5 separate regions of the Homo sapiens genome follow, and all the other regions are linked to region 1. Evidence: promoter capture Hi-C in 16 types of primary human blood cells and fetal thymus (Javierre and others, 2016). All regions are on one chromosome and are shown on one strand. The core of a region is centred on a gene start or on the middle of the fragment in contact, and the rest is flanking DNA. Distances in the headings are between cores, read along the strand shown. Region 1 holds the start of ZNF219 (zinc finger protein 219). Region 2 has its middle 23 kb from the start of OR10G3. Region 3 holds the start of TRY-GTA4-1 (tRNA-Tyr (anticodon GTA) 4-1). Region 4 overlaps RNASE4 (ribonuclease A family member 4). Region 5 overlaps CHD8 (chromodomain helicase DNA binding protein 8).

What was found. Contacts are between HindIII fragments. The CHiCAGO score rates a contact against its expected background, and 5 or more counts as called.
Region 2: a fragment that was not itself captured here is called in contact with the fragment with the promoter of ZNF219 in region 1 in 1 of 17 cell types (naive CD8 T cells); the score reaches 5.2 in naive CD8 T cells.
Region 3: a contact is called between a fragment that was not itself captured here and the fragment with the promoter of ZNF219 in region 1, in 1 of 17 cell types (naive B cells). The highest score is 5.3, in naive B cells.
Region 4: a fragment that was not itself captured here is called in contact with the fragment with the promoter of ZNF219 in region 1 in 8 of 17 cell types (naive B cells, total B cells, fetal thymus and 5 more); the score reaches 7.2 in naive B cells.
Region 5: a contact is called between a fragment that was not itself captured here and the fragment with the promoter of ZNF219 in region 1, in 1 of 17 cell types (fetal thymus). The highest score is 5.7, in fetal thymus.

The regions. Positions count from the first base shown.
Region 1 is chr14:21,097,278-21,100,029 of GRCh38, reverse strand. ZNF219 (zinc finger protein 219) reads left to right here and starts at 1,375. Exons shown (of 5, transcript NM_016423.3): 1 at 1,375-1,718. It also overlaps a transcript of TMEM253 not described here. RefSeq lists enhancers at 1,193-1,693, 2,453-2,752. The HindIII fragment of the contact is 7,101 bases long and covers 1-2,752 here.
Region 2 is chr14:21,556,147-21,558,898 of GRCh38, reverse strand. No RefSeq gene overlaps it. Among named protein-coding and RNA genes, the nearest start is that of OR10G3, 23 kb to the left of the region's middle. RefSeq lists a silencer at 55-241 and enhancers at 260-803, 804-1,347. The HindIII fragment of the contact is 2,598 bases long and covers 54-2,651 here.
Region 3 is chr14:20,655,406-20,658,157 of GRCh38, reverse strand. TRY-GTA4-1 (tRNA-Tyr (anticodon GTA) 4-1) reads left to right here and starts at 601; the gene lies at 601-694. LOC124903281 (a long non-coding RNA gene) reads right to left here. Exons shown (of 2, transcript XR_007064059.1): 2 at 1-453. The HindIII fragment of the contact is 684 bases long and covers 1,011-1,694 here.
Region 4 is chr14:20,699,215-20,701,966 of GRCh38, reverse strand. RNASE4 (ribonuclease A family member 4) reads right to left here. Exons shown (of 2, transcript NM_002937.5): 2 at 751-2,612. The coding sequence starts at 2,595. The coding sequence ends at 2,152. EGILA (EGFR interacting lncRNA) reads left to right here. Exons shown (of 4, transcript NR_174964.1): 2 at 2,469-2,645. Among named protein-coding and RNA genes, the nearest start is that of EGILA, 6.4 kb to the left of the region's middle. RefSeq lists a silencer at 2,151-2,316. The HindIII fragment of the contact is 1,171 bases long and covers 771-1,941 here.
Region 5 is chr14:21,432,539-21,435,290 of GRCh38, reverse strand. The region is part of intron 1 of CHD8 (chromodomain helicase DNA binding protein 8); the gene reads left to right. Among named protein-coding and RNA genes, the nearest start is that of CHD8, 22 kb to the left of the region's middle. The HindIII fragment of the contact is 1,326 bases long and covers 724-2,049 here.

The DNA.
Region 1 (2,752 bases), core at 126-2,625:
AGGGGGCTAACAATATGACTGTGAAGAGTTGTTGATTCAGGGTGGGTGTTTAATAACTATTAGTGGTGCTGATGAGGTCACACCGATAAGTCTGATGCCCATACACTAAAAGTGTTATTCAGAAGGAAGCTGGGGACACATTTCTACAGTCGGAAGCAGAACCAGCTGGGCCCAAATATACTCTATAGATCAAAACAAATCCCAGATCTACCTAGGTGCCCTTGGCAAGTTGCTTAATCTCTCTGTTCCCTTATCTATAAAAGGAAGTTAATAATACCAGTCTCAAGGGGTTGCTTTCAGCATGGAAGAGAGCTTAGCCCAGTACCTGGTACACAAGTGCTCAATGTTAGTGGCTATGATCATCATCACTATTATTATTTCTTGTTGTTGACGATAAGAGGAGACTGCGCCAGAAGACTCTAGAAGTTAGTACGAGGAGGGAGGCAGGGTCCTGGGAGGCAAGTGATCTTTTGTAAGCCACTCCTGCCCCATCAGTGCTGTGCCAACATCGGCGGGTCATTGTATCTACTCTTTTCTTTCCCGGGGAGTGGGAGTCACGTTTTAAAGAGATCCAGAAAACTGCTGTGTGTCTACTCCTCCTCAATTCCCACGTGCATTGATTTTATTTGGTGGCGATGTGAGATGTTGGGCTTGCACTGAGGATCCCCGAGCCTGCAGGCCACTGGGGAAACAGACTTCCTGAAGCCTCATTTTTCTTACTTGTAAATGGGGGCTAATTTAATTATAGAGGGTTATTGGAAAGATTATATACTATTAGATAGGTGAACAGGCATTCAGTAAATATTGACTAAATCTGAGTATACTACTTACCAGTTTGTAGTCTAGACTACAATCGCCTGGAAGGAAGGTACCACTTCTTTCTCATCCCTCACAGCGCTGAGCCCAGTGCCTGGCACTTAGTAAGCACTCAGTAAATATTTGTTGTATTGAAGAGCCATTAAAGTGACTTGAGGAATGGAAAATAGAATTCGAGAGGAAGGCGCAGGAATTGTTTATCAAGAACGGAAAGGACCGAAGAGTAACTTTAATAATGTTTCTTATACGGCCGACATTAACTATCTCTATAATCGCCCCTCCTCCTCCCCCAAAAGAGAGACAGAAATTGTAAGGGAGAGGCTTTGAGATAAAACCCCAGGAAGAACTTCCCGAGTCTGTGCATGTTGGGGCAGAAAGAGCGGCAGAGCCAACTCCTTCCCTGGTATGTCCGGGTTTAGGGAGGGAGGGGCAGTGCTGCTTGGAGGCTGGGGGAAGGACGAGATGACCTTTCAAAATCTCTTCCAGTCTCCTGTTGGAATCCTCTGTGCGCCCCACCCCCGCTCCCTCCCTTCCTCCCTCCCTCCGACAGCGCCCCCCGTCTCCAAACCGCCCGCACCCCGCCCCTGGCGGCCGCCTCTCGCGGCTCCCGGGGTCCCCAGCTCCCTGTCCCCGGAGCCAGAGCCCGGCTCCCGCGCGGCTCCCAGCCCCGCCGCGCCGCCCCCCGCATGCTAATGGCCGGGCCGCCTCCCGCCGCACACAATGCGGGCCAGGGCCGGGGGCGGGGGACCGGGGAGGGGGCGGGGGCCGGGCCGGGGGCGGGGGGGCCGGGGCCCGGCGCATCTCCCCCGGCCCCACGTAACGCTGACGCCCGCGCCGCCGGCCCGCCGCCCGCCGCCGCCGCCGCCGCCGCCGCCCGCTCCGCCGCCGCCCGCCCGGGGCTCGTGAGTAGCCGCTCCCCCGACTCCCGGGCCCCCCCGTCCGCCACCCGGCCCCCGCCCCCGGCCCCCTCCCCCCTCCCGGAGGGGGGGCCCGCTCAGCGCGCCCGGCTCGGAGCAGGTGCAGGGGGCGGGGGCGGGGGAGGGGCGCCGGCTCGGCCCCAAGCAAACTTCGCCCAGAGCTCCTGGGGGGGCGGGGTGGGGGTGGCGGCCTCGGAAGCCTGGAGAGCTGGGGGGCCCCAAGGGAGGGGGGGCCAGGTGGAAGAGCTGGGGGAGCAGACACCAAAGGGAAGGGCCAACGGGGGGGATGTGGCGGGGGAGGTGGCGGGTGTCTTTGTAGGGGCCCGAAGGCAGGGCGCGAGGGACCTGGGGGTGAGGGGCGGCAGAGCCGCGAGCCTGAGTGGATGTGCACCCCCCAACCCCCGGCCCAGGTAGGGCTGGTGGGGGAGGGGGAAGGAGCCCAAACTCTCTGGAAGCACGGGGTGGCGGGGGAGGGGAAAGGATGGGGGGTGCTTCCCTCTTTGCGTCCCAAACAAAGTGTCACAAAGAGCTCGGCCCGCGGCAGCAGCGGAGGCGGCTGTAACTCAGCTTTTGTTCTCCTGGCCGGGGGTAGCTGAGCCTTGGCCTCCCTATCTCCCAACCCTGCCCCCCATCATCCTTCTGGCTTATCTTCCTGGGGAGGGGTCTGGGGTGCTGCTGGAAAAACCTCTCCGGCAGGATAGCAGGTCCTACCCTACTTAGCAATCTATTTCTGGGAGGGGGATTTTCCCAGAGGCTCCCTTGATCGCCCCTACCTCCCAGTCTGAGGACCGAGGCTCACGTGGGTGCTAAGACTGACTTTTCTAGGGTCAGCTCCACTTAAAGGGACTTAGGGCTGGCTACATGCCCCTCTTTCCCAAACCCAGGTCTTCCAGAACTTTCAAAATCAAAATCGGGGTTGCGTTAGGACATGCCTCTGGGATAAGATTCCCCATGGTGGGATGGCAGCAGGTGAGCAGGTGTGCCTTCCTCTCGCCTCCTGCTGTACCTTTGAAGTCCAT
Region 2 (2,752 bases), core at 103-2,602, 460 kb before region 1:
AAAGAAAAAGAAAAGAGACAAGACAAGACAAGACAAGATAGTGGAGCAAAGCTTCTGCTTTTCCTTTGTAAGCCAGCAAATGCTACCCTATGGAAGGGAAAGGACGGGAAGAGAAAAGTACTGTCCAACTCCACTGAATCTGTAGCAACAGCATGACGTTCAGATAAAAAATATCTAATATGGCTGGGCACAGTGACTCACACCTGTAATCCCAGCACTTTGGGAGGCCGAGGCGGGTGGATCATCTGAGGTCAGGAGTTCGAGACCAGCCTGCTCAACATGGTGAAACCCCATCTCTACTAAAAATCCAAAAGTTAGCTGGGCATGGTGGCGTGTGCGTGTATTAGTCCCAGTTACTCGGGAGGCTTAGGCAAGAGAATCGCTTGAACCCGGGAGGTGGGGGTTGCAGTGAGCTGAGATTGCATCACTGCACTCCAGCCTGGGCGACAGAGTGAGATTCCGTCTCAAACAGACAAACAAAAAAAAAATCTGGTATGGAGTTGGGAGAGATAAGACTAAACCTCATGTTCCCATATTTGAATTGGATGCAAAAAAAAAAAAAAAAAAATTCGGCCGGGCGTGGTGGCTCGCGCCTGTAATCCCAGCACTTTGGGAGGCTGAGGCACCTGAGGTCAGTAATTCAAGACCAGCCTGGCCAACATGGTGAAACCCTGTCTCTACAAAAATTAGCCGGGCATAATGCAGGTGCCTGTAATCCCCAACTACGCGGGAGGCTGAGACATGAGAATCGCTTGAACCCAGGAAGCGGAGGTTGTAGTGAGCCGAGATTGCGCCACTGCGTTCCAGCCTGGGCGACAGGGTGAGACTCCGTCGCAAAAATAAATACATAAATAAATAAAATTTTTAAAAAATAAAAATAAAAATTCACCAACATAAAGATGATATTTAAATCTGTATATGTGAGAAGGAACAAGTACTAACTGCATCACAATTAAACAGTTTCCTAGGAGTGGCTTCTGAATGTTACTTCTTTGTATCTTATTTTTGTATCTGAATGTTACTTCTTTGTATACTTACTGGCCTGTATCGCAGGCTTTCACTTGTTAATTGAGTTCTCTCTTCTTAAGTATTTTGGCATTTCTACCACCAGGTGGCGATGTCCCACTGTCTTTCATTTACTCATTGTCGAACGAGAGATTCTTAAAGAATTTGGGGGTGGGGGGAGGGGTCAGGTTATGTCCTTCTACTAGTTATACAAATAAGCGCTTGCTTTCATGCTGAAAAGCGAAAAGAATTTGGAGGGGGAGGGTAAGAGGTCAGGCAGTGGCTGCCTCTTCCTCCCTATTTGTTTTCTTAGTCGTTTGGTTTCCATGGGAATCCATGTTTGAGCAGCAACTCTGAATCCATTTACTGCCCCTCCAGGCTTGGGGCTGAGCCCAGAGACAAGCTGTGAAGAACAGCAGATGGGTAGAAAGGCGGGGAAGATTTATTTGGTAAATTTGGATAGCAAAAGAGGCCAACAGGTGCCGGGGGAGCAGTGGTGAGGTGGAGTGCACGAAGGAATGTGAAAGGCAGACAATGTTTTTTAGTTCAAATAAAATTGGGGAACATTAAAATAGTTTCCAAAACTCTTCAGTCAGGGATACTCTGTTCTCTCCCCATAGATCATCTTAGGACACACTCTGGGCCTTGTATATTACCAGGTCCTCTCTATCTCTTATCCAAAAAAAAATCAACAGGCTAGGCACCATGGCTCACACCTGTAATCCCGACATTTTGGGAGGATGAGGCAGGAGGATCACTTGAGCCTAGGAGTTTGAGACCAACCTGGGCAATAGAGGGAGATCCCATCTCCACAAAAAAAAAAAAATTGTTTTAATTAGCTGGGCATGGTGGCTCACACCTATAGTCCCAGCTACTCTGAAGGCTGCAGTGGGAGGATCGCCTTAGCCCAGGAGTTCAAGGCCACAGTGAGCCGTTATCTTTTTGCCAGCCTGGGCAACAGAGCAAGACCCTGTCTCAACAAAACAAAACAAAACAAAACAAAAACGTCAGCAGACAAGTGTCAGAACCTGTCCAAGGTTAAAGCCCTTTGGAGTAAGAGAACTCCAAGGAAAAAACCTCCACTGCATTCCCCAGGCAAAGCATAATTCCGCATACAGCAAGCTCTCAGTAAAATATTGGTTGAATGAATGAATGAATGAATGAATGAATGAGCAATAAGAATCAGATGGCCTTGACTAGCCTTACTTAGTTCCAGCTTGAGATAACAAACTCAGCACAAAGAAAAATCATCTATTCTGTCATCAAAATCATGAGGATGTGAATGTTTTCATTCACAGATTAAGTCATTCAAAGAATGATGAGGGTGTTTTGTTGTTGTTGTTCTGCTTAAATCAGATGTTTTTCATACTTGCATTACTAATACCCCAGTTTCTAAGAGTATTTGCATTTCAGTTTGTTTGTGACAATATTCGGGTATCCATTCACAGATAGCAGTTGATCTGCATATGAACAGCTTTCTACCTTGAGATGGAATCAAGTCTTCCCTCTAATTCCTTAACCACCAGCCCCACTCTTTCTCTTCACTTTCTGACCCACTACCCTGTTTAATTATCATTCATTCTGTAGTTATTTATTTGCTTACATTTTTATTGCTTGTCACTTCTACAAATGATAGGTGACAAGCTTCTTTCTTTCTTCCGGATCACTAAGCCTTCTCTAAGTTTTATCGTCTAAATGTTCATCTTACTTTTTTTTTTCTTTTTTCTTTTTTTTTTTTTTTTTTTGA
Region 3 (2,752 bases), core at 103-2,602, 440 kb after region 1:
CTTCCCAGTGCACCTCAATGCACCAAAATGTGAGCATAGACTACTATGAGGAGAAGGGCGGGGCACCTGGGGAGGAGGGCCCTGTGTGTGTGGTAGGGGAGGGAGTAGAGAGGCCAGACTATTATGGAAGCGCCCATTAGAGACCTGCACCAGACTCTGAGGTTGGGTTGGAGTTGTCAGCTGCCTATCCAGCGCCCATTAGGGTTCTCCTCTTTTCCTCCTCCAGCGTTCTCTCCCCGACTAGACCCACCCAACCACCTCGCCAATCCCTGTGCCCTCGCTGACTCACCTTCTCATTTTCTCTCAGGCCACTGGGGGCTGTCATCCTCACCTGTAGAAAGGTGGATGCTCAGGGAGAGGAAGGCTGTCACAGATGAGAGCTCCTCCTCGTGGATGGTGGCTATCAGAGCCCGAGAGACACCAGGCATCCTCGCCCAGAGGATTTGCTCCGCCCTGAAAGGGGTGTGGTGTCAAGCGGCGCAGGGTTCTCTTCCAAGGTGGGTGCCAACCAACCCAACGCGTATTGGACCTCAAGCATTCCAGGGATGTGGCTCCCTCTGTTTGCAGAAAGTCCAATGAACCAGCTTTGATAGCATGCATCCTTCGATAGCTCAGCTGGTAGAGCGGAGGACTGTAGATTGTATAGACATTTGCGGACATCCTTAGGTCGCTGGTTCGATTCCAGCTCGAAGGAAGTGCGTGATGCTTTTGGTTAAAAGCCCTGCAGCTTCCAAGTAGTAACCACACTCTCCCGGGCAAAACACCCACGAAGTCTTTCCTGATCACCTAGCTTCCCACGCCTTGCTTCTACTTTGTGACCCCACTAATCCCTCTATTCATGCTGACCACTACTTCCCCACCCTGTGCTCCTTCGCTTTTCTTCACAGACTGCTCTCGAGCTTGAGCATCTCCACTGGCTGTGACAAAACCGCTGTGCTCACCTTTGACAGAGCTCTCCTGACCAGGTGGGCAAAGCCTGGAAGGTCAAGTTCCCTGGAGAACGTCAAGCTTACTTGACAAGGGTGTAAAGTGGGGATAACCGTGGTATCTTCCGTGAAAACTCACCCTCTCACTCTCATCCATCTCAGGCTCTTTATCACTGCATTGAGATCTGACAGTCTCATGTTTGTCTCTGTCTCATTCTCTTTCTCTCTTTCACCGTTTCTCTGTCTCTGTATATTTCTCTTTGTCTCTGTGTCTCTGCCTCCCTATCTCTCTTCCCTGAGCCCTCAGCCTGCCCCTCTCATTCTCCTTGGCTGGAAATGTATAGACCTATACAGGCGTAAAGAAAATGTTCATTCCCACTTTGCTGTGTCTACTTTGGGGAGACAGCTGTCACCCTGAGAATTTCCTAATCCTAAGAACTTCCATTAGCAAGGTCAGGTTGCCCTTTAGGTTGAGGACAAGGTGAGTCTATCCCCTATCCCCATAGCTTTTCCCAAATCCCTCAAGCCTCACTTTTTCTGAGCCTTCACAACTTTTCATGCTGCTACAGCGGAGTTTGGCCCCTGCTAGAAAAGAAAGGACCTAATATTCAGTTCAAAGCCAGCAAAAACACCTGTGTTGAGTGCCCTGCTACTTGAGAGGGTAAGGGAGATGGAAGGGGAGTACAAAAGTGCAGGCTGGAAAAGAGCTTCAGTGATCCTGGAGAGTTAGAGGCTGTTGGGTCCATGGCAGGGAGCAGAAGTAAAGCTTGAGTGACAGCTGTCATTATACAGAGGCACACGAATTCGCTGCCTTAGGCCACTGCCTGGTGGGTCTGAGCAGTTTGGAGCTTTGGGACTAGAGGCACAGTTGGACTCTACCCTCACCCCAAAGGAAAAAGTGCTGAGGCCTAATCAGAGAGAATGAAGTAGGAAATGGACTTAGGTTTTCTCCAACGAACAGGGGTTACACCTCCAGGGAGATGGAGTGGGTTCTGTGGGTATGGGGCAGAGAAGAAAGCCAACAAGCGTTCCTTGGTCTCATCTCACCATCTCAGAAAAAATCTCCAGAGATTTGATGCGCACATGCAACCTATCACAGAGAGCACTCCAAGCCAAATGGCCCATGGGAACGTGGCCCTCTGAAACCCTCTGGGGACTGGGACACCTGCCTCCACTACCTGCTGTGGCCACAAGAGCTGTTTCATTGCAGGTCTCAAACTGAAGACTACACAGGTCTTTCTTGGGAAGCAGCTCCTGATCTCCCTCCACCTCCCTATTTCCCCCAATGTTCCCCTGGCTTTGTCAGCCTTTCCTGCTTCTCATTGCTAACAGAAGGAGGCCAAGCTGTGGCATCGCCAGTGCCCAGGATGATTCTATGGCTTTGGAGCCACAGAGAGATCCCTGCCTCCAATGACACCAAAGGCAGAGGCTAGCGAACACAGACGAAATGTAGTACCTTTGTCCCTTATTGGATAAGTTCATGATGGGATATAGAGACCCCCAGGTTCTTCGGAACCTCTGTTTAGTGTTTTGGTGGGAAAATCAGAGGTGAGCCAGTGAATGGGCTTTGGTGGCCAGCACAAGCAAGGTTGAAACCTGGGTACCAACTCTTCCTGTTTGAGCCATGACAGAGTAGCTGGGTTCTGTGAGCATCTGACCCTTGCCCTCAGAGATCCAGACCCACTTGCCATAAGACAGGGAGTGGACTTAAACTCAATGGTGGCCAGGTTCCTTGGATGTGGCTTGCTGCACCTCCAGTAGGTGTTCAGCTGGGGGGTGGGTGTCCCAGTGGTCTTGGGGTAGTGGTGTTGCGGGAAGTCAGGGAC
Region 4 (2,752 bases), core at 107-2,606, 400 kb after region 1:
AGTGCCGTTTTCTGGCCATTTGGAACCATTGTTGGGTTTGTATTAGGGCCAAACGGTATTGCAGAAGAAAATAAGGCATTTAGGTTTTAGGTCAGGTGTGAGTTGAAGAGGTTTTAAGTTCTTGAGAACACAGGCTAAGGGAGAAGAAGGGGGAATGCAGGGTGGAAGGTTGCCCACAGTGAAGAAGTAAGTTTAAAGAGAAAGGTAGAGACACAGCAAAGGGGGTGGTGAGCAGCCCTGGGCTATAACGTGGACGATCAGCCAAAGCAGGCATCCCGCGATTGACTTGCCATCAAGGGAATGTGGGTGAATGACCATGGCAGGTGTCCCCACAGTGATCAGACACCAATGGAATGTGGGTGAATGATCAGGGCAGGCATCCCCACAATGATCAGACGCCAAGGGAAGACTATCTTCCCGAGTCCGTGACTGGTGTCTGAGTTTTGGGTCCATGGATAAAATGCGTCTCCTTTGTCTCTACTAGAGAGGAAAGAGAACTGGAATTGGAAGGACAGGGAGATTGAAGGGTAGCAAGAGAGGCTGGAGAAGACAGTGAAAAGACCGCTTACCCAATTTGAAATGGGTGAGATGTTCCTTGGGCTGGTTGGTCTGAGGACCTGAGGTCATAGGTGGACCTCCTCATGGAGTGAAGGCGAGGACAGGGGACCAGTCTCCTGAAGGAGTCCCCCTGTTCTGGGTCTTCGGCACTAAATGCCACACGCGTCCATGTGAAGAGACCACCAAACAGGCTTTGTGTGAGCAATAAAGCTTTTTAATCACCTGGGTGCAGGCAGACTGAGTCCAAAAAAGGAGTCAGCAAAGGGAGATGGGGTGGGGCAGTTTTATAGGATTTGGGTTGGTAGTGGGAAATTACGGTCAAAGTGGGTTATTCTCTAGCGGGCAGGGGCGGGGGTCACAAGGTGCTCTGGTGGGGAGCTCCTGAGTCTAATTGTCCAGGAGAAGGAATGTCACAAGGCTAATTGATCAGTTAAGGTGGGGCAGGAACAAATCACAGTGGTGGAATGTCATCAGTTAAGGCAGGAATTGGTTATTTTCACTTCTTTTGTGGTTCTTCAGTTGCTTCAGGCCATCTGGATGTATACGTGCAGGCTTGGGCTCAGAGACCTGACAGCTCCCTAATTTGCTTCTAAATATTCTAAGGGAGAAGGAAGAGCTGTGAGAATTGTCTTTGAGAGGAATCATTCTCTCTGGAGTAAATGAGACAAATCTTCTGTGTTGTGGTCATGGATCTGATAGGCATTAGTCTTTGACCAGAGTTTATGAGGTTATTAAGGTGCATGCATGTTTATAAACTAAACAAGAATTTAAAAGTCAGAGAAAAAAAATAATACCATAGCACAGTCTTCTCAGGTACCTTCGGTTTAGGTCCTTTATTACAAGGAAAACATAAAAAATCTTTCAATCAGTAAGAGCACATAAGTCTTAATGATCTAGTACATTTTTTAGTACTTTGACTTACTAGGGTGATTCAAAGTTTCAGGAAAAAGAAAATTCCCAGTATCATTTTCTTAATCTTATTAAACCCAAACATAAGAATGCCAAAAAATACAGAGCTCACATTTTGCTGGCATACATTTCCAAATTTTTAATGCCTCCCTGACAGGTGAATTTTAAGGATAAAAAAAGCAGACACTTTCAAAACATTCCTTGTGATGAAGTAGAAAAAGCCCTGGATAAGTGGCCAGCTACACTGGATTTTTGTCTCAATTCTTCCATTAACTTTACAGTCTTCAGCAAATCCCTTAACTTTGAGCTTCTATATGTAGTGACATCATTATAAGTGCTGTGGTATTAAAATGTGATAAACATAGATGAAAGCATTTTGAAATGTTTGAAATACTACATAAATACACATAATAACTAAATTCCACAGGATAGGATCTGAGAGAGCTAAGCTGACCAGTATTATAAAAGGAAGCTTATTACAGAAAAGCCCAGCCTCATTCATTACAGGTTTATGTCTCCATATCTCTTTGGTGCAATGTATTTAATAGAATGAGTTATATAGAGAAAAAGAGTAGGAAATGAGCTGAGGAGACAGAGCCTGGGACAGCTCAAATGCATTACTCACTGCTATTTAAGGAGTAAGTGTAAGGTCAACCACTCGCGATAATCCCTACATGGTGGCATCTAACCGTCAAAGTGCACAGGCACCTGTGGGTTACCCTCACAGGCAATGACAACACGTCTAGTGCTCGCTATGGCCCGATATCTGCAGTTGGGTGCCCTGGAACTTCCTGTGTCCCTGCAATCTGTGACCTTCACTACACCCTCATGGCAGTTCATCTTGCCGTTCTTGCATTGGATATTGGTGGTGCTGCAGATACTACGAATGTTCCAGATATCTTCATGGATGAAGGTGTTGAAGCGCTTGCAGTGATACAAAGTCATCTTCCGTCTTTGCATCATCAAGTTGCAGTAGCGATCACTGCCACCTGTCTCCTCAGGGTGCACGTGTTGCCGCAGGAATCGCTGGTACATGCCATCCTGGCCATAGGAGGGCTGGACCAGCCCCAGCCCCAGCAGGGTCAGCAGCAAAAGCAGAAGCAATGAATGGGTCCTCTGCAGAGCCATCAGTATCTTAGAGGTGCCTAGAAAAGAAAGCAAGGGGCAGGAGAAATAAGGTAAGAACTGGGCACTGGAAAAAGGTGTTGAGAATAGCAAGCCGGCATCCTGACTCCATAGTCTCCTCTTTCCTCCTTCTTATATGCACCATCTCCCCACTCATCTC
Region 5 (2,752 bases), core at 137-2,636, 340 kb before region 1:
TTATAGATAGATGGGCTTGGATTTTAACCTTAACTGACTAGTTTGTTACTTTTCCCTTCCACTGCCATCCCTCACCCCCTACATGCCCTCCAAGATTTCTGTCATGATTCTGGTCATTAGTTTGTAATTATGGAAAGTGACTAAGTACAACCACTAAGTTTTGTCTTTCCTTTTGAGCACATACATGTGTTTCTCTTTTGGGGACTGGTGGGCCAACACTGGCTTTTCATTCTTAATATGATAAAAGTTGGTGTGACTTCTTTATCTAGGCAGTTACTTTGCATTGAAACCAACTTAACATCTGTTCATTTTTGCTATTAGGGTTTGAATCAAGGAAAGAGAATTCATGAGATGGTTGAGAGGATTCATGAGATAGATGAGCTTGGTAGAATAAATAGGCCGTATGTGGATATAGCCAGGGTGACCCACAAGTAGTAGTAGAAGGAGGGTTAAAAAAAGTTAGATGTATGTTGGGAGAAGGTTTAATCTTGTAAGAGTCAAGGACAGTTTAAAGATAGGAACTAGAAAAGAAGTAGGAAACTAGCATAAAAATATGAGATGAATTGGGTCAGTATAGGTGAGAATGATGGGACTGAGAAGTAATGATACTTGGTGGCAAGGTTTTTGAATTATTAGGCATAGACCGAACTAGAAGAAGCAGAAATTTGGTTCGAAAATTGGGAAGGGAGAGATAAATGACAATGCATTGATCTTTAAAAAGCTTATACTAAGTCATATGGGGGTAAGGAGATTCATCAGAAACCATCAGCCTTGTTTCTCCTATTTAAAAAAAAAAAAATCTGGGCCTAAGATTGGATCATTATGGGGGAAAGGAAGAGCATTAGAATTAACAAATAGCAAGGAATCATGGAAGCGACAAAATACTCCATGGAATAAGGAGCAGGCTATAAACTATTTGCAACGTAAACTTCTGGTTAGTAGAAACTTTCAGCGTGGTGGCTCATGCCTATAATCCCAGCACTTTGGGAGGCTGAGGCGACGGCTCACCTCTGAAGTCGAGAGTCCGAGACCAGTCTGACTAACGTGGCGAAAACCTGTCTCTACTAAAAATACAAAATTAGCCGAGTGTGGTGGCGCAGGCCTGTAATCCCAGCTATTCGGGAGGCTGAGGCAGGAGAATCGCTTGAACCCAGGAGGTAGAGGTTGCGGTGAGCCGAGATCGCGCCATTGCACTCCAGCCTGGGCGACAAGAGTGAAACTCTGTCTCAGAAAAAAAAAAAAAAAAAAAAAGAAACTTTCACTGTTGTTTTTATATTACTCCTAGCTGTAGATACTTTAACTTCTGACGGTGAGTAGAGAATGAAAAATAATTGGTGCCAAAGTAGGTATACTGGAAAAAAGCTGATGATAATGGGAAGGAAATTTATTAATATCAAGTTATTGAGTAGGTTTTCGTTAAATCAGGAAGCATTCATAACTTTCCTGATTGCCATTTTGAGTAATTTGGAGGCAAATATTAGATATGAGAGGCTGGAATGAGCTGGTGGAATAGGCTAGCCAGGAATGGGAGATGGTATGGATCTTGGGTTGAGATATGAAAAGTATGCAATTACTGAAGCAAGGACGATCTTGTTTAACATTGTTGGAGATACCATGTATACTTTGTAATTTTGACTCACGTGTTTGTTCTCTTTGTCTGTTTTGGAGTATCTGATATATTAACCCATATTATATTGTTTTATAAGGATAAGTGAGATGGGTTGGGAAGGAAAAAACATAGCATGGGGGTTATATGGAAAAGTCTCCTTCAGTCAGGACTGTGCCTCTGACAAATTTCTTATCTGGTGTCTTCCAAAAGTTAGGAGAAATGGTCTTACCAAGCAAGACTTTCCTGTATTGTCAAATACTGTCATCATATACAAAGAACAGATATTTCTTTTTCATATATTTGGGTTTTATGGTGATATACTTCCCTGTCTTTGATAGCTTTTCTTTTTTCCACTAGTTTCATGAACTTAAAACCCTAGACATGGATTTTGTGAACCTACTTTCAGCCATTCATAAGACATGTTTTCAAGATAGGAAGCTTTTTACCATCTCATGTTAGAATCAAAGGATACCATTTAGTTTCTGTGAGGATCGAATGGTTTACTCCAGATAATGCGAGCAAGTATAATTCATTAACTGTTTTTTGATTAGCTACTATATGTGCTATGTCCTGCTGGTTCTTAGGGGATCCACAGATAAATAAAACATAGTCCCCACCATCCAAGAACTTTCTCCCAGAGAAAGAGGAGCTGGGCCATGGTACAGAGTTGTGGAGGGTGTACATTGCATACATTCATAACAAATTTTTATATATTTAGTATGGCAGTTTTCCAGGCATCTTGAGAAGTGGGCAACTTTTTACAATTTGCGCAAAGGAACCATTTGGGCCTTCAGAGGATATATTACAGACTTAGGTCATTATAATAAAATATTAAATATAAGTGTTTTAAGGTATAAACAATGGTGTGGGTATTTAAAGGAGGTGGAGGGATCAAGTCATCACAAGTTGCTCAGTTGTTAAAGCGTCAGAGGTTCAGGGCTCACTTAATGGAGTAGAAGACCTTTGAGGGTTGGTAGGATTTTAGCTGCGAGAGATTATTGGCATTGGGATGGAGAGGACGTGTTCCAGGCAGAAAGCACAGCATCATAAGCAAAGTCACACAGGTAGGAATCACATTAAGGGAATTGTGTAGTCTAGTTGGACTGGAATGTAAAATATATGTAAGAGATGGTAAGAGGAAGT